7 separate regions of the Homo sapiens genome follow, and all the other regions are linked to region 1. Evidence: promoter capture Hi-C in 16 types of primary human blood cells and fetal thymus (Javierre and others, 2016). All regions are on one chromosome and are shown on one strand. Each heading gives the region's core, a stretch centred on a gene start or on the middle of the fragment in contact. The rest is flanking DNA. Distances are from core to core; before and after follow the strand shown.

Region 1 (2,903 bases), core at 24-2,523:
TGGGGCTCCGACCCCTTGACAGAGTCTGGGGGTGAATGTTTACAGCTCCTGAAGCCCCAGTGGGTGTGTGTTACAGGATGCTCTTTCAGTTTGCCTTTAGGGGGCTTGTGTTAACCAGCTCAATTAGACCCTCTACCTTGTCGCACAGACAGCGAGCTTTCTGTATCCTGGGTTCTTGCCTTGGTGTACCAGAAGAATTGGATCACACGTGGGCTTGGAGAATGAGTGCAAAGTTTTATTGAGTGGAAGTAGCCCTCAGCAGATGAGGGACCCAGAAGGGAAATGGTTTTCCTCTGGAGTTAGGCCGCTTGGCGGCCCGGGCTCTTTTCCGACTGCCCAGGCCAACCTCCGCATCGTTCTGCCCGTGAATGGCCTGCGGATGTGCCAGCGAGCTCCTCTTCTTCCACCCTTATGCTCCTCTGGACGTCTGGCTGCCTGTGTACCTGCCTGCTAGGGTCTGGGGTTTTCATAGGCACAGTATGGGGGAGTGGCAGGCCAGGGTGGTCTTGGGAAATGCAACATTTGGGCTGGAAGGCAGGAGTGTCAGTCCTCACCTAGGTCGGTGGGCGTGGAGCCCTAGCAAGGGACCACACACTCCTCTACCCAGCACTTCACTTCGCCCATCCCTATCATTTAAAGGGACCACGCTCTTCCCTTCCCAGCACTCCCCTATCATTTCTACACTGTAAATTTTTTTTGTTTATATTTGTCTCATCTATCAGGTTGTGAATTCCTTCACATTAACTTGCATGGAATTCATCTTGTTATAATGTGGTACCTAAAAATCCTAGTACTCTGGTTCAAAAATATATGTTTAACAAATGTTCAGTGAAAGCGAATGAATGAATGAACGATGACTCCCACACACGGAGGAACCCTGTCCTCCTGTAAGGTACATGATTTGAAGGTCCCAACAAGTCTATCTTGGAACAGGCCCAGTTGCGATGCCCATACAGTTCTCGGACTAACAAAAAGTGTCACACCATCCAGATATGCTTAATTTGGAAGCAGCTGTAAGCAGACTCCCGGCCAGCTCAAGTTTCCTCACCTGGGAAGAGGCGGGAGGCTGTTTACCGTACGGAAGCATAGCGGCCGCCTGCCTGAGTTCGGGAGCGCGGGTTCCTTTCCGGGAAAGAAGCCTAGGCCGTTTTCCGTACAGCAGCATGGCGGCCGCCGACGGGAGGCGGTCATAGCATCACGCCCGGGGGAAGAGGCCGCCGTAAAGGAAGCTCTGCTTCCTCTTCTTCCTTCTCCCGCCTCCCACCGGCTGTCGTAAAACGGTGAATGGAGAGCGAGTTGTGGGGGGGAAAAAGGGAGGACAGGGGGCGCGGAGTCAGAGTGGCGCAGCAAGTGGCCGCAGGTGGCGACGGTGGCGGGGGGTGGGGTGTGAGGTAATCCAGGGGTCGCGGAAGAGGAGGCTGAGAGGGTCAAAAGAAAACTAAAGCTGCAGTCCGGCCTACTGTTCCGGGGGCCGCGGAGCCCCCACCCGGGGAGATGGACCTCAACCGGATCATCCAGGCGCTGAAGGGCACCATCGACCCGAAGTTGCGGATTGCAGCCGAGAACGAGCTCAACCAGGTGAGGAGAGGGTCTTCGGCGACCCTCTTCCGCCGAAGGGGCGCCCCTGCCGGCTGGCCGGGCTCCCTCTCCCCGGCGCCCCTCGTCCTCACCCCCACCGGGCTGGGGCTGACGCCTCACGGCTGGTCCCGCTCTCCGACCCCGCTGCCCCCCGGTCCAGTGGAGCAGGGCTCCCAGGATCTTTGCCGAACAGCTCGCGCACCTGTTGGCCACCTTTGCACCTTTTCGTGTCGTCTCCCTTCTCCAGGGCAGTTTGTTCTGCCTACTTGGTCCGCAAGAAGCAGTTTTTGCAACCTGTGCTAGTGTTTTCAGGGTGTGATTTATTTTCCTTAAGTGCGCGGACTTGGGGAGCAGGTGGGAATTTTACTTACAGTTCAAATCTGAGTTCAGCTTTTTTCCAAACCCAGCCCTTTTTAGGTGTTGCTGTGGAGCACGCTGCCCACCGCCTCCTCCTGTCGGGTTGGCAGGACTGTTTTGACACCGATTGGCCGAGTTTTGCGGAGCGCTGGGCAGTGCTGTTGGGAGAGTGCTCTGGGAAGAATAGGCAGTTTTCATGGTGATACTGCTTTATCTAAGACACATCAAAGTAAGATGTGTTGGAGAAATTTCTTATGAATGCTAAAATGTGTAAGACTTCTTTCTTTTCTCCGTCTCCTGTTCTTCCTAATTAGCCTTGACGTCTTTCCAGCGTTACCCCCACACTTCAAAATTTTAATGATCCCAAACTCCAGCTTATTTCTTCTTCCCTACCGGTACTTAAGAATCACAGACCTCTTACTAAAAAGTAGGGATTAAGAGCTACCACTGGGATGGAGCAACAGCTGTTTTAGGTTGTGATGACTTGTAAAATGTAAATATTCCAAAATCAGCTGTTCTCAAAGCGTTGCCCAGGACCTGGAGCTTCAGCATCACCTGAGAACTTACAAATTATGCAAATTACGGGGCTTCAGTCCAGACTTAACGAATCAGAAACTGTGGGGGTGGGACCAGTTGTATTTTAACTAGCTCCCCCAGGTGATTCTGTGCCTCCCGAAGTGTGACTGAAGTGTGACTGTCCTAAGTAAATGTTTCTGTTGGAATTGACTTTAAAAAGCTGCGTGTTGGGAATCTTTGAAAGGGATTATTTTAATAGGAAACCTAGGTGGAGTTTGGAGTAGGTATAAATGCAGGATTCCCCAGAGATAAAAGGGAGAGTGAAGACACTGCCAATGGAGAGGAGGTTGGGTTGAACTAATGCCCAAAGATAATGCACTGGTGCCTGAAAAAGAAATGGACTGTCACTTAGAATAGGGGGAAGTTAAAGTCAGTACCTGTCCCAGGCTTTG
Region 2 (2,904 bases), core at 220-2,719, 1.3 Mb after region 1:
ATGTAAACAATGTAATTCAGAGTTGTCAGATTGAACTTTAGAATATGTAATTAGTGAGATTTTTTTTTATTCTTGATGTAGACAACTGAAAGCTAGTTTCCCCCCTTGGCACCTAAAAGCATTGCTGAGAATATGTTATTCTAGACCTGTGTATACTGTATATTTGGAAAAAGTTAATTAAGTAATAAAGCATTTATATCATATGAAAGTTTTCTCTTGGAAGAATATATTAAGAATACTGCTTTCAGATGGAATTAGGCAGTTAACAGGTATTATCTATAGCTGTGTCCTATAATCTTCCATAGACCCTAGGCTATGTCAGAGATCATCTGAGAGATGTGTTTGTTTCCTATACCTTTTGAATATTTAAGACGGAGAAAATTTTCAGTGAAACCAACCACCTCCTAATAATTACTTGTTTTCCCAGGACAATTAGGGAAGAGAGCTGTTTACCTTGATCTGAAAAGGCATATAGGAAGCCTGTTAAAAATTGGTTTTATTCTCATTTTCTCTGCTTCCTGTTCTTTTAGGTCCAAAGGACAGTAAAATAACCAGACTTTCCCAAAGTTCAAACAGAGAGCACTTGGTCCCTTGTGAGGATGTTCTTCTGACCAAGCCAGAAGGGATCATGCAGATCCCAAGAAATTCTCACAGAACTACTATGGGGTAAGGAAGTCATGATTATTATAATGGAAGAAGTGTGTGGAAAAAATTGCTTGACTGACATCAACACTTGGTACTTGCTTAAAACATTATTCTTCACCTTTTTTCCAAAAAGAATAGACTCTTAGGTAACCCCTAATCTATGGCTTTTAATATGGAAACAAAACAAAACAATATAAGAATGTCCTTGTTTATCAATTGTACTTTCTCAACAAAATAGACCATGTATTAGCAAAGTGAAAAGTCAAATCTTTACAAAGAATGTTGGAGGCTGATATAATGTATGTAAAATATTTGGGTACATAGTAGATACTTAATAAATGATGTGTGGGAGTTTGGGGCAAATTCTGGCACATATAGGTCCTTCAGATCTTATAAATTTTCAATCAGAATTTAAAACAATACACACAATTGGTCAGCCATTCATAATGTATGAACTTTATAAATTTTGGCAAATTACGTATTAGATAATAAAGTTGATATAATTTAAAGTACAAATCTTTCTCTCTCACAACCATAAGGAAACAGACACAAAAAATAAGGCTCACTGGGGGTCAATAACATTGATGCATTAATTTCTGAGCAAAATAACTAACAATATATTCTGTTTAGAAATAATTTCTGACTTTGTTTCATCTATGCCATAGTTGCCAATGGAGATTAGTAGCCCCTTTAAATCACATCATTCAGCTTAATATTATTAACTTCCCGATGAAGCCAACAACTTTTGTCTGTCATGGTCATCTGCGTGTTTACGAAGGATTTGGACCAGGAAAAAAATTAATAGGTAACTGATTTCCCATGAATCTCTATGCTACTGATTTTTCTCTGATGAAACATGTTTAGATTGTTTCATATTCAGTATGTGGCTTACATGTGACATACACTAGTCTCTTCTTATAGGATGTTGAAATAGACTTACTGTTAAACTTGTGTCAGATTTAAAATTAAGATATAAAATCTCCTCAGGTTTAGTTAAAAACAAAGTCCAACAACGTTTCTTACATGGATCATACCTAGATTAAAATTGCTCAGAAATACTAAAAATAAAGAATGAATGAAGCAGTTTTAGACAAAAACACAAGAAAATTAAGACTATAAAATTAATAAGGCAAAATAATCACAGCAAAAGGCATTACATGAGTTTATCAATTGGTAGGAGTTAGAAGCCTGGTTACTTTAATTTAAACTCATTATTTTCTTTTTTTTTGGCACAAATCGTTGTTTTTATTTAATTTGGGAAAAACATCTTTACAAGTTGATAAATACTAGAATTGTCAATGAGAAAAATGCTACTGAAATACCTATTTTTCTCTTTGATGGCAGAATTTCCTAAATATTTGCATTTTAACATATTTTATCTCATACTTTAGCTGACATTACTTAGTTGTATATGGATCTATTCTTAATAAAATAAAGAGAAAAACATAAAGAGAGGAAAAGGATTATTAAATTTGGTATTACAATTGTGTAGAAGTTTCCCCATCATAAAATTTCTTTTTTTTATTTTTTTTTATTTTATTATTATTATACTTCAAGTTTTAGGGTACAAGTGCACAATGTGCAGTTAGTTACATATGTATACATGTGCCATGCTGGTGTGCTGCACCCATTAACTCGTCATTTAGCATTAGGTATATCTCCTAAAGCTATCCCTCCCCCCTCCCCCCACCCCACAACAGTCCACAGAGTGTGATGTTCCCCTTCCTGTGTCCATGTGTTCTCATTGTTCAGTTCCCACCTAAGAGTGAGAATATGCGGTGTTTGGTTTTTTGTTCTTGAGATAGTTTACTGAGAATGATGATTTCCAATTTCATCCATGTCCCTACAAAGGACATGAACTCATCATTTTTTATGGCTGCATAATATTCCATGGTGTATATGTGCCACATTTTCTTGATCCGGTCTATCATTGTTGGACATTTGGCTTGGTTCCAAGTCTTTGCTATTGTGAATAGTGCCGCAATAAACATACGTGTGCATGTGTCTTTGTAGCAGCATGATTTATAGTCCTTTGGGTATATACCCAGTAATGGGATGGCTGGGTCAAATGGTATTTCTAGTTCTAGATCCCTGAGGAATCGCCACACTGACTTCCACAATGGTTGAACTAGTTTACAGTCCCACCAACAGTGTAAAAGTGTTCCTATTTCTCCACATCCTCTCCAGCACCTGTTGTTTCCTGACTTTTTAATGATCGCCATTCTGACTGGTGTGAGATGGTATCTCATTGTGGTTTTG
Region 3 (2,908 bases), core at 11-2,510, 1.3 Mb after region 1:
GGCAACAGAACTTTGTCTCTTTTGTTCTTGCTGTATCCTCAATGTCTAAAGCACTGCTTGACAGAAAATATTTGATTTTTAAAAGAAAAAGTGGAAAAAATGGCCCTGAATGAGGGAAGAGCTTGGTAACTTAGGGAACTGTCAGAGGTCAGAGTGACTAGAGAGAGATTGAGCAAGGACAGACTAGAATGAAGTGGGGTGGTGGAGCAGAGAGGCTTTCTCCAATTGTGCAGCTCAGGCTATGATAGTGACTTTGGATTTTATTCCAGTTCAATAGGAGGTCATCATAAGTTTTGACAGGGGAGTAATTTGAAGGCTGATCTGGAGTGACAAAGTGAATTGTGTCTATAGTTATGAGGCTCTTGTCTACACCTGCACTGTCCAATCCATGTTGCTATTTAAATGTAAATTAGTTAAAATGAAGTAAAATGTGACAATACCAACATTTCAAGTGCTCAGTAGCTACATGTAGCGAGTGACTACCATATTGGACAGCAAAGATATAGAAAGCTCCATCATTGCAGAAAGTTCTATTGCACTGTTTTAGACAATAGATGATGTTGCTTTAGAGGAGGATAACAATAATGGAATGCGAGTGAAGTAGACAGATCTGGAGATAGAATGGAGAGGATTTCCTGATGGATTGAATATGGAATTCAGTATGCAAATCAAGAATGACTCTTAGGTTTATGATGTGAGACACTGGAGAAAGCATTTATGGAGATGGAAAATATGACAGGGAGAAAAAGATTTATAGAGAGATATCTGTTTGGGCCATGCTAAAAACATTGCTCTGATATATCCAGATTGAGTTGCCACTAGTTAGCTAGAGATAGAACTCTTGAGCTAGTGGAGGATTTGGAGCTATAGATATCAATTTGGGACTTTTCAGTTTCTCACTAATTTAGTTATCCTTTCTCCTACATCGTCTATCTTCTCTATCATTCTCATCAGTTTCAAACATGTTCTAATATTATCTATCATTTAAAACAAACTAAAACTAATGTAAGTCAGCAATTATCCCATTTCTCTGCTTCCTTTTAAAGCAAAATTTCTCACTTTTTAAAGGGTTGATGGATTTAGGAAGTTTATGGGATCAATGGCTTAGAAGGTCATGGTGAGATTAAATAATTGTAGCAAAGAAATATTAATATACTTAGGAGGTGGTGATTTAGAAAGTGGGATGTTTGAACTAATTCCAGAGGTGTCAAATGATTACAAATTCAGAGCAGCGATAGTAAAGAATTAAAAGATAAAGGGAATCATAGTACCATAGTACTAGCTGAGTCTCACAAGTTCTTTACTTGTTGGTGTGCAATCTGGTTACTAAATATTTTGAATATCCCCCTTGGTCAAACACAAATTTAAGGAACGTTGGCAAACTGGAGTGCATCCAAAGAGCATAATGAGCAGGATGTAGAAGGGTGTGGACATCCTGGGCATGTTTACCTTGGAGAAGAGAGAAGACAGAAGGATCATAATTCTTTTTAAATATACATGGAATTCTCATGGAGAGGTTCTCAGGCCATGTACAAAACTTGTTCTGCTTAATATTATCTAATAACTTATTAAATATTTACCATTATCCAGGCATTGTTGAGCTAAGACCCAATCTCATGAAGATGAAAACTCTTAATCTTTTAACAATCTTATGTAGGTAGGTTACATTATCTTCATTTTAAATATGAGACAAGCAAGTCACAAAACTGTTAAATAAATTGCCTCCAGTGACATCGCTAATAAGTAGAAAACGTGGGACTCAACTGAAGCACTCTGTGTTCTTGGCCACTATTCTAACCACGTGGTAGTCATCACATTGATGCCTTTTGACACAAGGAGAGGAAGAACAGTCTAGAAATTAGATCAGTTTAAAAGGAGAAAATGCTGATAAGTTCCAGGTCATATCTTCAAGGCGAGCATTATATGTTTTGGATTATTTTAGAGTAAACTCTGTATTAGGTGTAATGTTCAACTTAATAATCTAGGAGCCTGTATTTAAACTAGCCCCTTTTCCAGCCACCTATCTTCAACCTACAGGCTTTATAAATGTGTTTTCTGTATTTCTGTCTAAGTCATCAATGAAATACCGTACTCGGTGGAACCAAAGACAGAATCATTTCCATACCATTTAGACCTTCCCTCCAGGTTAACATTTCTTGTATGGTTATTTAATCACCTGTGGAACTTCCTAGCCACATAATTATCTACGTACCATTTGCTGTCTGTTCACAGGGACATCACAGGCACTTTATTAAGTGCTTCATTGAAGTCAAGGTTCATTAAGTTCATCCCATTCCCCCTAGCCACCATCTAATTAGCTCTTTTAAAAAATGAAATTAGGTTAATTTAATGTGGCGTGTTAAGGATCCCATGTTGCCTTCTCATGACCACTGATTCCTCCTCCAAGTGTTCAAAAACCATCTGTCTAATAATTTGCTGTAAAAATTTTGCTGAGGTTTATTTTCGTTTAACAAATATGTATAATACTTTGTAAATACCAACTGATTTAATCCTAAGAAAATATTGTTTTTATCTACATTTTGCAGATGAGAATACTGAGGCACAGACAGAGATTGAATAACTTGCCATATAGTTAATATGGCAGGTTATTATGGAGTTATTATCTCCATTTTGCAGATGAGATTATCGAGGCACAGAGAGAGGTTGAGTAGCTTGCCATATAGTTAATAAGGGATAGAGTTGGTTCAAACCAGCAGTTTGGTTTTAGAATCTGTGCCTGTAAGCACTAAGCTATGTCCCTTCACTGACAGGACTTTGGAAACCCCTACACCTCTCTGTTTTTCTCTGTCTCCTACCTACCGCCTTATGCTCCCAAACATCCTTTTTGAAAAACAGAGTAACAGTTTCCTGTTGGGAACAGGCCCCCCAAAATCTGGCCATGAACTGG
Region 4 (3,394 bases), core at 124-2,623, 1.2 Mb after region 1:
TATGAATACATTATTAATATATGTTCCAAAATTATGAGATTCCTAAAATTCTGATATGTCTTGGTATGTTATCCATCATAATTATGGTTATTATATTAAATTATTATAGGCCACAGGAGAAAAAAAACAACTTTTTTGTCAATTACATCTTTAACCATGACCATAGTTAACTTTTCCATAGTTAATTGCTTAATTATGATACATTTTCTAAAAGCTCTTGATAAAGAAGTAAAATCCTAGAATGGCGTATCTTCAAGGAGGTTCACAGAAAGGATGAAAAGAACCCTGACAAGCACTCTTGAAAACAGGTTTCTGATAACTTAAAGATCACATTATTTGGATTAAGAATTCCCAAAACTCTAATGAAGAGACTGACTGGGTTATAAAACTTCTAACCCAAGCAAGACAAGAATTAATTGAATACCAAGAAAACACTTTGCCAGATTTTCATGCTAAATCAGCTCTCACTAAAATGTTTTAAGTATACAATTTAAATAAACTTCTATGGTCCAATTCAAATTACCTATGATGGCCCACCTAATAAACAGTGCTATACATCTGAATTGAAAAACAAAATTGGTTTTTGAGAGGATCTAAATTCAGTATTAAGCATATACTCATGGAGAGCCTAAATGGCCACCTGGTCCTTCCAAAGTCCTTCAAGCTTTCATTGTTAAAAGTTCTGTATGCCATCACTCATCATAGGAGGGATAAACTGATCCAGGTTACATTTTTAAAGTATTTATTGGTATGGTGACTATTCTAAATTGCTAAAATGGTTGACTAATATTTGGGTGGTCAAACTCATAATCCTGGGAAGACAATCAAAACTTCAGGTACATTTCTGCTACCTGATGGGCCATTTAAACATTTATAGAGAAATTTCATTCAACTGTCATTTTTAATGCGTATTTTCTGGTTATATGAAAGCTTTCTCATACAAAAATCTGATGGCTGTAATAGTAGCTAAAACATTATTAGAAAGTGTGTTTCCCTCATGGGACATTCCTAGAAAAATCTCTAGCAATAAAAGGCACTTGATTCACTGGACAAGTTGTAAAACAAATAAGGTATTTCAGATACAATAGCATTAGGCAAAGGTAACTGATTCAACTAGATTGTCTTATTCAAAAGTATTACAGTGGATACAGTGGATAATCAGATCCACTTCCAGGGGAAAACGTAAGTTGGCCTTTCTAAAATAGTCGGTAGAGGGCCCATATCCCTAATAACAAAACCTCATTTACTTTCTGGTCTGAAACTCTGATATGACTAAATGCTACAAGGCTTTAATACATCATGCCAAAGTATACTTTCGCTAGATTTAAAAAAAAAAAAAGGCTTTTCATGATCAGTGACTGTGGACAATCAAACCCTTCATGGTCTAAAACCCAGAGACTGGATATTCTGAAAATGATATCAGAAAAAGACTGCCCTTTGCTGAGCACAGTGGCTCACACCTGCAATCCCAGTATTTTGGGAAGCCAAGGCGGGTGGATCACCTGAGGTCAGGAGTTCGAGACCAGCCTGGCCAACATGGTGAAACCCTGTCTCTACTAAAAATACAAAAATTAGCCACTGGGTGTGGTGATGGGTGCCTGTAATCCCAGCTAATTGGGAGGCTGAGGCAGGAGAATCGCCTGAACCCAGGAGACGGAGGTTGCGGTGAGCTGAGATCCTGCCATTGCACTCCAGCCTGGGTGACAGAGCAAAACTCCATCTCAAAAAAAAAAAAAAAAAAAAAAAAAAAAAAAAAAAAAAAAAAGACTGCCCTTGCCACCCACACTACAGCAAAACTTTGGGACCTCAAAGCTTAGGTTCATAATCTCACAACTGAAAAGGGCCCTCCAGACTCTTTGACCTATACACCCATTTGAAACCTTAAGATAAAGCTAATCAGGAAAGTTTCTCCCCAAAACAAATGGCATCCTAGACATGGACAGCTTTCCCAAGATCACAGATCAAGACTTTTCTGCTATCATCAGACTCTTACCTCTCTTAATTTTTTCCTTGCTTATGCCTCTATAAACAATAAAACTAAAAAGGGAGATTTGTGTACATCATGAGGTATAACTTTATTTGTAGAGGACTTTGCAGCCAGCATTATACATTGACAGTCTTATGCCTGGGTAGAAAAGATTCAGGACCAATGTGAGCAAAAACATTTAATGGCATCTTTATTCTTCCATAATCAGTCAGAACCAGAACATTGGTTCATTCCTTTTAACCTACATCATAGGTTTAAAACAACACTGCCAGGGGCCTTCACTCTTCTAGTGAAGTTTAAACATGGAGTTTCTTTACACTCTTCTAGACATAATTCTTAGGCCCCTTTTCCCATAATTTAAAGGAGATAATGATTACAATTCATCCCTCATAATAGGCTCCATAACAGATTGTACTACAAAGACTGATTACACAAAAGTCATCTTTAAATTCTCTTGCTAAGGTTGTGCTGGATAATAAAATTACTCTAGATTGTCTACTGGATAAACAGAAAAAAATCTGTACCATTACTGACTCTATTTGTTACATGTAAATAAATGCATTGACTATTACAGAGATTTGGTTGTAGGGTATTAATAAACAGACTGCTTGATTAAAACAAGTAGACTCCTTTTCTGGCTCATTCTTTGATCTATTTCATTTTAGTTGGTTTGGTTCATGGAGATGCTGACTAAGGAGCATACTCCAAACTCTTGATTTGATCTTCTTGATCATTATAATTGTCTCTCTGGCACACTATGTTCCCTCAAAAGTTTTCAATGGTTACATACAGCCATTTGTAAAATGTCAAATGGTCTCTCTTTAATTGAGATGACAAAAACTCAAAAAAGAGTGTTCTCATAAAGACATCATAACCAATAAATGATGTACTGAGACCAAAACCCTAAAATAATGGTAACTGAGAATGGCGTTAAAAGCCTAATGGTCACACTCACCTAAGTAAAATCATAACCAAAAGGAAGAAACTGTTAAACAAAATTAGGAGATGCCATTATTTTGGACTGAGTTCATACAATAGGCCCCAGCAGACCAGACCAAACCAAAATAGAGTCACTCATGCTAAGTGTGACATAATCAAATTAAAATTTTTTAAAAAAATCCTAAACAGGTAAGTCCTAAAATAGACGCGAATTTTCTTTCTGCCCTCCAAAAAACAAGAGATTCCAACACAGAGAGGTCCCCTGTACTCTCTTTCAAAAAAATAACCTAAAAAAACCATCTTACAAAGCTCACTGTTCTGCTATTTCCCAGTAAAACTTAAGACCAAATAAGTGCCTTTACGATAGTGGTAGAGTGAAATCAATGCCTACAGTTTTGGTTCACCTCTCAATTTTGAGGGGAGCATTGTTAAATGTAGCCTAAAACTGCCTCCTTACATATTTTAAGC
Region 5 (2,904 bases), core at 252-2,751, 1.3 Mb after region 1:
TGAATACATTAATAATTATTTAATTATAGTTGTATTGAGCCTGTAAAGGAGAAGTATGGCTGATAAGAGACTATTTAACAAGGTATTAAATGTACGCTGCAAGTCAGTGGAGACTTTATTGAGGAAGACCTTTGAACACTAGGAGAAGAGGAGGAATTTAATATATAAAGGAGGGAAGGGCATACAGCAGGAAAGAGCATGGCTGGAAGTTTATAAAATACATATAGAGATAACATTAGATTTCTATGAAAAAGTATTTCAGTATTTACAATACTCAGATCAAACATTTGTTTTTTTCCTCATTATCTCTTGAAATTTATGTTTTGTTGTTTTGTTACCATTACCCATCTCCAACCCAACCTGTTGCTGGGAACCTTGGAATGTCTTGAAATCTTAGCTTAAAGAAATTTAGCAGATTTTATTGCACCTTTGGATACAAACAATATTCTAGTCCACAACCAACTCAAAGAGGGAAATTTTGACAAATATTATAATCAGACTCTATATTATGTCCCTTTTTAAAATTTGTTTTTGGTCTTTTCACAATTTCACTTTCCTTCCCAGGTGGTAACTCACACTATCAGAGAGGCCAAATAGAAAAGCATTTGGTTCATATCTTGTCATCTCAGGGATATCCTGTAAACCCACTCCTAATTTTTAGTGTTACATTTGTCAAGTTCAATATTGATCTTTTTGAAGGTCTCATATTACCTCTCAGACACAATGTCAGTCTCAACTGTAATTTAAAAGAGTAATAAAAGGAACATAATTTGTAACACAATATGTATTTCAATATGCTTGAGCGTGAATACACTAGAAGACATAATGAAGTAGGCAGATGCTTGCCACTTATATGTAGAATTTTTAAGTGTATAATTGCTACAAATGCAGACTGAAACAGATGTATTGGCTACTCAGATATCATGAGTGACATTTCCGTTGATGAGATGATATTCAGAAATAGGAATACCTCTTTGTAATATTAAACAAAACAGAATATAAGCTTCCCTTAGTTTTCTGGGAAATTTAGTGTATATTAAAACTACAACTTTATATAGCTAAATGGGGTTCAGTTCTAGACTCAGATTATTATAATAGGCTTTTCATGTACATGAGTATCTCTTAGAACATTTGAAAGTCAGGCAAATCCTGGAATGATTCTTTTTTGTGTGAGACTGTCAATTTCATTGCAGGATGCCTTGTTTCTGTGGCTGTTGTCCAGTAAATCCCAATAGCAACCCCTTCCCAATAATTCTGACAACTCAAAATGCCTCTCTTCACCCCCCACCAATTTTCAGAACAACTTTTCCTCCACTGAAAGTCATTCAGGCTAGATTCTTGTCTGATAGGGTAGAAAATATCCCAGAAAAGAAACAGGTAAATTCTGAATATCCATCCTCCCTATGCAGAGTTTTAACAAGTGTCAGATAACTACAGTCATCTGTACTAGGGTGATTTAATTTGATTTTTAAATTTAATTTTTTGAAGAAGATGCTCACTTATGCTGTTACTTCATAAAATGAATACACCTGTTAACAAAAAAAAAAAGAAGGAAATATTATTTAAAACAGCTCTCTGTTCCTCTCAGAGTAAAATCCTGGGTGGTGAGAGAGATCATTGAAGTAAAATGTATAGGTTGAGCATCCCTTATCTGAAAATCTGAAATTCAAAATGCTCCAAATTTGGAGCATTCAAAATACTCCAAATTTGAGCATTGTCAACACGATGCTCAAAGGAAATGCTTAAGAGTGTTTCAGATTTCAGGTTAGGGAGGCCTCCCTGGCAAATAAAATGTACATATTCTAAAATCTAAAATTTGAAACTTCTGATCCCAAGCATTTTGGATAAGGGATATTCAACGTGTAGTATTGTAATTTGGTTATTCAGAAAAACTTTGTTGTTTGTTTGAAAATAATAGTAGGAACACTGTTAGACTGACAATATGATTGGAGCTAGTAATAATTTATGACAGTAGACTTTCTTTTTAGTAGTAAGCTTGAGGTAATACACTTGACTGTGAACACAGAAGAATTTACGAGACCAAACTACCAATCATTCCAGTGCATCAGGAAATGCTTTATTGAGCAAGGTTTTAGTATACTTTATGTTGAATGTCAGTTAATACATTTCCCTAATCATTGTATTGCCTTTTTTAAAGTGCCTGGTGTTTTGCTAGGTAACACATAGAACAAATTAAACAATGTTTAGACCTACTAGGGCATATTCTGAAACTTGACAATGGTAACAGACAGTTAATTGGTTATAAAGAAAGAAGGCTCCTTTATGGAGAGTTTCTATTTTCAGTTTTTTAGTTAATTGCTAGAATTAGTAACTGGGTAAAGCAGGATTGTGATAAAGGAGATCTTCAAGGTGATTTTTTAATTTTTTTTAACCAGGAACAGGGAAGGATAGTACTTATTTGTAGAAGTGTAAAGGTGCTAAAAGAACAGGTTAAATTTGAAAGATAACAGTGTATAACAGAACAAAGGTTTACTGCAGTGGTAGGCAAACTACAGTTTATATACCAAATCCAGCCTACTACCTGTTTTTGTATGGTTCATGAGCTAAGAAGGGCTTTTAAATTTTGTTTATTTATTTGTTTGTTTATTTTTTTGAGACAGAGTCTCGCTCTGTTGCTCATGCTGGAGTACAGTGACGTGATCTGGGCTCACTGCAATCTCTGCCTCCCAGGTTCAAGTGATTCTCCTGCCTCAGCCTCCTGAGTAGCTGGGATTACAGGTAGCCCACCACCACGCCCGGCTAATTTTTGTATTTTTAGTAGAGACAGGGTTTCACCATGTTGGCCAGGCTGGTCTCGAACTCCTGACCTCAGGTGATCCACTCACCTTGGCCTCCCAAAGTGCTAGGATTACAGGTGTGAGCCACCTTGCCCAGACATGGTTT
Region 6 (3,107 bases), core at 148-2,647, 1.2 Mb after region 1:
TCCTCGTTCTCAGATGGAGAGGAATTGCCTTGAAATTTGCATGTACCAGACTAAGTGCCAGTATATATATGACTGATATTTTCGTGACTCATAGAAGGTGTCCATGGTATAGAGTTTATGCCTACATCTCTATCTTTATTTTGGGCACACATGAGCTTTTGTTAATTATTTCTTTGTACTTGTTAGAATCTGTTTTTGAAAAAAAAAAAAACTTTTGCTTTGATTTGTGGTGGATTCACCTTCTTAAAATAATAAATTTAGAGGATATTAGGAATGACATTCAAAACAAATATAGTGAGAGGTGATTTTTTAAAAATTTTTGTTCCTGGTTTCCAAATTATGTTTACTTTGATTTGATTATATGTTGGTATCTCCCAAATATAGGTTAACTTAGCTATTTAAATGGTATCTTTTGACATTTAAAAAGAATTAAGTACCTGTCAAATCTAGCATTGAGGTTGCAGTTGAATAAGATAAAAGCTTAGGATGTCAAAAAATAATATAGAGAAATATTATAAGATTTTATGATTATTCTTGACGTTTTTGATGCAAAAGGAAAATATGCTGAATAGTTCTTCCAAAAAATATTATTTCCCTCAATATTTTATTTGTAGCCATGTAATTTAAAGAGAACAGAAAATAACTGCAATCAAAAGTATGGTTTAATATCAATCAAAGTGGCACAACAGAATTGATAAGATCTTTATAACAATCAATTGGCTGATATTAAAATATTGATTTTAATTGATCTTTTCAATTAAAATCTTTAGGGCCTGTAACTCATAAAATCAGCATCCACCACAATATATGGTCATTATTGGTTTGTAAGCATAGATCACCATTGACTCCTACCTGGAGAGACATGTCTATTTCTAAAAATCCAGTAGTTTCTTTGCATTCTCAGTAGTACACGTTGTATATATATATATGTAACAAATTTGGTAGTTTTCAGTATGTGTGATGTCCTTTGGGGGTTATTTATCTTGCTGGTCCATAGGAGGGGTACACTACCCCAAGAATCAAGACATCTGAGTTCTAGTTCTAGTTCTAGCTCTGCCACTGAAGAGCCACCTTACCTGGGGCAAGTTAGCCATTGTCTCCCAGTCATGTTTACCACCCATGAAAGGACTCGTCGGTTTGATGTTTCCATTAAGCTCAATGAGTAACTCTAATAGTTACTCTTGAATCTGGATTGAAAAACACCATGCATCTGATGAGATAATTCATAAATGTTGCCCCTTTTTTAAATGATACAACCCTAAAAGTGACTGAATTGCCCAAGTGCTTGAACATGGCAGAGGTAGTTACTCCTATTTTGCAGTTTGTGCACTTAAAAATTCCTACAGTGATTGTTACTTTACTGGGGAAAAAAGATGAGGTGAAACTTCCTCCCAAGGAATTAAAATATCTGTAGAAGCCATGGCTTGCTTTTATAATGTGGAAATCATTTGATTTGCTGTAATTCACGCAGATCCCTCCTTTTGTCAGGGGGAAATGATTTGCATCATGTTCTTTTTTCATAATGCTTTTACTTCCTGTTTGGATCAGTTGTATGTAAATGTACATTTTTGTTACTTTGGCTGTGCCCGTTAGAATTTATCTTCCATAAAGTATTTCTCCCATTGAGTCTAATGATGTATACTTTGCCTAGGTCTTTCCAAAATTAAATTTATGTAAATGTCTATTTTATATAAAATATGATTAAAATAAGTATGTCTGGTTTCAATCTCTCAAGTACTTCATGGTTAGTACCTACTGATGTCCATGTCACCAGGAGTGTCTGTTTTAACAATGTTTTAAAAAGGACCATCTTCCTTCCTTCATTCTTTCATTTACTCATTTCATTGCATTATTCTGTGTGCTTCCTGTCTGCTCTCTTTCCCTTCCTCCGCACAGTGCCAATTCAGTACTCACCCACTCCAGATCCGCTCCCCTATCATGCTTAGATGCTGTCACCTCTCTCTTCACAGAGTAAATAAAAGGTAGAAAGCAGCTGTCCCCCAATGCCCTGCACTTCATCTATACATTTACCTGCACCTAATTCTATCCTTTCTTTTCTCCTGTTATCGTAATGGAAGAAGAGGACCCTAGGTTCTGCATTTTGCCTCTTATGGAACTTCATTCCATGCCTTAACTTCTCCTTCATCTTTTTACTTCTTCCTTTTGCTGGCTCTTGTCAATTTGTCAGTTCTACTCTTCTTAAAGCACATACACAGGCAATCAACACCGAAACAATTTGAAAAAAAAAATCCTCTGTTTCATTTTATCTGTAGCTGCTATCACATCTCCGTCTGCCCTTCACAGCCAAGCTTTTCGAATAGCAGATCACAGTTGTCCTATACTAGTGAAGATGTCCAAATTAAAGACAGATTTGCTGTACATCACAAGTCACCACTGTCTGGGGGTAGTCCAGTCCACTCCTCTCCTTGGTATCCTTTCCTTTTCTGAAGTTATTTTAAACATAAAAAGAGGATTCTTCCATTTGGATGTTTTAATATAACTACAAACTCAATTTATATTGAAACCATTACTTTTTTAGAAAATTTGAGTCTAAAACTAAAACTAATGGCCTGGCTTTTTTTGTTTGTTTGTTTGTTTTTGAGATGGAGTCTCACTCTGTCACCCAGGCTGGAGTGCAGTGGTACGATATTGGCTCACTGCAACCTCCGCCTTCTAGTTCAAGCGATTCTCATGCCTCAGCCTCCCGAGTAGCTGGGATTACAGGCATGTGCCACCACACCCGGCTATTTTTTTTATTTCTAGTAGAGATGGGGTTTCACCATGTTGGCCGCCAGGCTGGTCTCGAACTCTTGACCTCAGGTGATCCGCCTGCCTCACCCTCCCAAAGTGCTGGGATTACAGGCGTGAGCCACTGCGCCTGGCCTATGGCCTGGCTATTAATGGTGTGTAATTCTTATTGAATGGCTCTTTTTCCACTTAATGGAAAGGCATTATTATGTGAGGCCTGTAAGGGACTAAACCTTTGTATATAAGAATAGGGTCTCAGTTGAAGCTGTGGGTTTTGAACTCTGGAAACAAAGGGAGTTGTTCTGTAACAGGAAATGAGACAGTGCCCCACCGCATGGAGATTCCCAGGTTTGAAACAA
Region 7 (3,132 bases), core at 352-2,851, 1.3 Mb after region 1:
TCCTATAGAACTCAATATTGTGATTAAATTATAAAAGTTTGAATTATTAAGCTGCCATTTCTGTAGATTAAAAAGTTTGAAAATTAGCTACTTTATATGATTCAGCCTAATAATTGTAATTACAATAATACATCAAGATGTTAGCTTTAGTACATCCACATTATGAAAATTTTGCTCTTCAAAATTAAAGTCAAAAAGCTTATATACTTAAATTAGGAATCCTTAACTCTCGAACAAAATGGTATGTTTCCCAAATATTTCTGTCTGTATTTAAGGCTGGAGGTAACTGAGGCTTCATTGAAACTGGTTAATAATCTTTGTCTAATGAACCTTGATTTAAAAGTTGGAAGTCAAATATGAGCACAAAATATTTCTGTAATGGTATTAGAAAATAAAACTTCCCTCTTTTCTCACTCTCTTTCTCTTTTAACCTCTCTTCCTTTCCTTCAACCTCTTTTCTCTCTCTTCCCCACCTCCTGTTCCCTTTTACATTCCCCCTCCCTAACCCCATCTCTCTGGACTTCTTACACTCTTTCAACTTCTCAATCCATCTCTCCCTTTTCACCTCTGTTAATCACTTTTTCTTTCTCAATCCCTCTACTTTTTTTTCAATTAACAACCTCCCTCTTCTCCTTTCTTTTCTCCCTCTCCCCAATCTCTTATACTCTTCCAAATTCTCATCCTCCTTCCCTCTCTCAATCCTTCTTTCTCAATGCCCTCCATCTTTCTCTTTCAACCAACCTCCCTTCCCCTTCCCTTTCCTTTTCTTACCAACCTTTTCTGTCTTTCTCTTTTCCCTCTTTCTCTCAACCCTCTGCCCAACTCCTCTCTTTTTCTCTCAACCTTTCCTTTCCTTTGCAAATGCTACAATGAGAAAGTATTATAAATGTCCTAGTATTTACTAAAAACCCTCACATGAATATTGGTCTAAAGGTTCTGCTTTCATTAAGTTATACTTTTGGATAGGAACACTGAGGAAAAATGAAAGATGAGATTTGCAATAGGGATTCTCTAATTCTCATGTTAATCTGTTTTGTACCATTTTTACTTTGTCTTTTGTGGATCTCTTCTTTTTATTAGATGATATTAAAGGGGATTAAAGTTGTATTGTATGAAATGTCAGGCCTGTCTAAAGCTTTTTTTTTCTTTTTTTTCCCCTCACACTTTGATCTGCTGGCCATTAATTTTGTTGCTGACACAATCGCTATTGTGACTTCCCTGGGTGGTGATTTGGGTGTAGTAGGGGCCAAGTCTGAAGGTTTACTGAAAAATGGACCCTAAAAGGCAGATTAATTGCAGAAATGTCATACAAATTTGTTTAACATGTATACACATGAGACGATACAGGAGAAATTGTCCATTTTTATGCTTAGTACAGAGAGCCATGTAGAGATATGATTTGACAAAAAGTGTATGATTTAATGCTGGCAGACTGAGTGGGGAAACCCAGTGAGGCTTGTCTGTCTCTATTCTCTTGGCTCTCTAAGCATGCATTTTTTCCTACTGGTATGAGGCAGTTCTCTCTCTGAAATGGGGGTCTGATGACCTACAGTCAAACAAGGTAAGTCAGATAATTTCTTTATGGCAAGTTTTTACACAGAAAGGCTGGAGCAGCAGGAAGTTAGAGTAATATTTTTAGGTTTTATGGCTGACTTTGGCAAAATGGGTTCTGATTTCTATGACCTACCCTGGGGAAGAGGGATCCTAGTTTCTATGGCTATCTATGGGGGAGAATGGGACTGAAAAATTGGAGAGCAGGACAAGGTCAGGAAATGTTTGCTTCTGAGGCCTTCATTTTGGGGCATTGTTTTCTGAGCCCCTAGAGGATGATGCTCTCAAGGTCCTTCAGCAAAGGGTGCAAGGTTAGCACCCCCTGTTTGACCCAGAGTAGCCACCTGATTTCCCTAAGAGAGTCACAGGCTATTTGGTGTTCTGTTTTTGGCTTCTGTTTGGCTATAATTTTAGAGTTCTTCCATATTCAATCTTTAATAGGACCTACTGTGTTAGAGCTGTTTTACTTTTCCTCTAGTTGAAAGCCAATTTAATTGAGGAGGGCGCATAAGCTTTCTTTCTTTCTTTGGCCTTCTTTCCAAGAACCACTCTCTCTTTTGTAATTCTTTTTTTTTTTTTTTTTTTTTTGAGACAGAGTCTTGCCCTGTCGCCCAGGCTGGAGTGCAATGGCATGATCTCAGCTCACTGCAACCTCCGCCTCCTGGGTTCAAACGATTCTCCTGCCTCAGCCTCCTGAGTAGCTGGGGTTACAGGCACCCGCTACTATGCCCAGCTAATTTTGTATTTTTAGTAGAGATGGGGTTTCTCCATGTTGGCCAGGCTGGTCTCGAACTCCTGACCTCGTGATCTGTCCACCTCAGCCTCCCAAAGTGAGCCACCATGCCTGGCTCCGTTTTGTGTTTCAATGTGAAGCTCTCTATGTATTTCGTTGCCATCAACTGTGTAAATTTATCTATGATGTAAGGGTTACATGGCCAAATTTAAAGAACTTAGAGAACTCATAACCTGATTTTTATTCATGTATTTTTAAAAATCCTTCTTGACCACCTACTGTGTGCCAGACAGAGACACCTAGAAAGAGAAAGCTTTCATCTGTAGAATCTCATTATAATAGAGAAAAACAATACATGAAGATAACTACTATTCAACATGCTATAGAAGCCAGCAGCCTAGGCAGGAACAACTACTGTTTTCTGCAGGAATAAGTGAATGTAATATTTGAGCTGAGTTTTAAGGTTTAAATAATAGTTGACTTGGTTTAGTTTAGTATTTATGTTTTATACACCATCTCTTATGTAACAAGCTATTTCCCTATCAACAACTCCACATAGTGTGAGTTTCTCCTGTCACATGGATCATTGGAAAATTTTTTTGTTCATTCTTAAGTCATAAATTACATTACTTCATTTCCTCTAACCCTTCACCTTTTCTTTCTGATATGTGTTTCAATGATGTAGTGCCAACATTTCACACTTTCCTTGTCAATTTAACAAACAGTCAACAACTTAAGTCTAGTAAGTATCTTATTCTCGCTGAAGATTAACAATGTTGGCCCATCTCTTGATTGCATCTTTGTCTCAACTTTATTATTCATAATATTAGCACTTGTGTTTTTCTATT

What was found. Contacts are between HindIII fragments. The CHiCAGO score rates a contact against its expected background, and 5 or more counts as called.
Region 2: a fragment that was not itself captured here is called in contact with the fragment with the promoter of IPO8 in region 1 in 4 of 17 cell types (neutrophils, monocytes, total CD4 T cells and 1 more); the score reaches 7.5 in neutrophils.
Region 3: a fragment that was not itself captured here is called in contact with the fragment with the promoter of IPO8 in region 1 in 4 of 17 cell types (monocytes, M2 macrophages, M0 macrophages and 1 more); the score reaches 14.8 in monocytes.
Region 4: a contact is called between a fragment that was not itself captured here and the fragment with the promoter of IPO8 in region 1, in 2 of 17 cell types (total CD8 T cells and total CD4 T cells). The highest score is 5.8, in total CD8 T cells.
Region 5: a contact is called between a fragment that was not itself captured here and the fragment with the promoter of IPO8 in region 1, in 13 of 17 cell types (activated CD4 T cells, total B cells, naive CD8 T cells and 10 more). The highest score is 14.3, in activated CD4 T cells.
Region 6: a fragment that was not itself captured here is called in contact with the fragment with the promoter of IPO8 in region 1 in 2 of 17 cell types (M1 macrophages and neutrophils); the score reaches 5.8 in M1 macrophages.
Region 7: a contact is called between a fragment that was not itself captured here and the fragment with the promoter of IPO8 in region 1, in 4 of 17 cell types (non-activated CD4 T cells, neutrophils, activated CD4 T cells and 1 more). The highest score is 6.7, in non-activated CD4 T cells.

Annotation. Positions count from the first base shown.
Region 1 is chr12:30,694,239-30,697,141 of GRCh38, reverse strand. IPO8 (importin 8) reads left to right here and starts at 1,273. Exons shown (of 25, transcript NM_006390.4): 1 at 1,273-1,578. The coding sequence starts at 1,495. RefSeq lists an enhancer at 884-1,383 and a silencer at 1,474-1,523. The HindIII fragment of the contact is 4,530 bases long and covers 1-2,903 here.
Region 2 is chr12:29,441,907-29,444,810 of GRCh38, reverse strand. OVCH1 (ovochymase 1) reads left to right here. Exons shown (of 26, transcript NM_001353179.2): 24 at 531-666; 25 at 1,311-1,450. The region is part of intron 1 of OVCH1-AS1 (OVCH1 antisense RNA 1); the gene reads right to left. Among named protein-coding and RNA genes, the nearest start is that of OVCH1-AS1, 54 kb to the right of the region's middle. The HindIII fragment of the contact is 5,628 bases long and covers 1-2,904 here.
Region 3 is chr12:29,424,428-29,427,335 of GRCh38, reverse strand. The region is part of intron 1 of OVCH1-AS1 (OVCH1 antisense RNA 1); the gene reads right to left. It also overlaps a transcript of OVCH1 not described here. Among named protein-coding and RNA genes, the nearest start is that of OVCH1-AS1, 37 kb to the right of the region's middle. The HindIII fragment of the contact is 5,763 bases long and covers 1-2,908 here.
Region 4 is chr12:29,523,530-29,526,923 of GRCh38, reverse strand. The region is part of intron 11 of TMTC1 (transmembrane O-mannosyltransferase targeting cadherins 1); the gene reads left to right. All of the region lies in intron 2 of LOC105369714 (a long non-coding RNA gene), which reads right to left. Among named protein-coding and RNA genes, the nearest start is that of OVCH1, 28 kb to the right of the region's middle. The HindIII fragment of the contact is 882 bases long and covers 933-1,814 here.
Region 5 is chr12:29,352,374-29,355,277 of GRCh38, reverse strand. All of the region lies in intron 8 of ERGIC2 (ERGIC and golgi 2), which reads left to right. Among named protein-coding and RNA genes, the nearest start is that of ERGIC2, 27 kb to the left of the region's middle. The HindIII fragment of the contact is 992 bases long and covers 1,006-1,997 here.
Region 6 is chr12:29,499,443-29,502,549 of GRCh38, reverse strand. TMTC1 (transmembrane O-mannosyltransferase targeting cadherins 1) reads left to right here. Exons shown (of 18, transcript NM_001193451.2): 18 at 1-1,710. Among named protein-coding and RNA genes, the nearest start is that of OVCH1, 3.3 kb to the right of the region's middle. The HindIII fragment of the contact is 1,829 bases long and covers 483-2,311 here.
Region 7 is chr12:29,400,158-29,403,289 of GRCh38, reverse strand. All of the region lies in intron 1 of OVCH1-AS1 (OVCH1 antisense RNA 1), which reads right to left. It also overlaps a transcript of OVCH1 not described here. Among named protein-coding and RNA genes, the nearest start is that of OVCH1-AS1, 12 kb to the right of the region's middle. The HindIII fragment of the contact is 928 bases long and covers 1,138-2,065 here.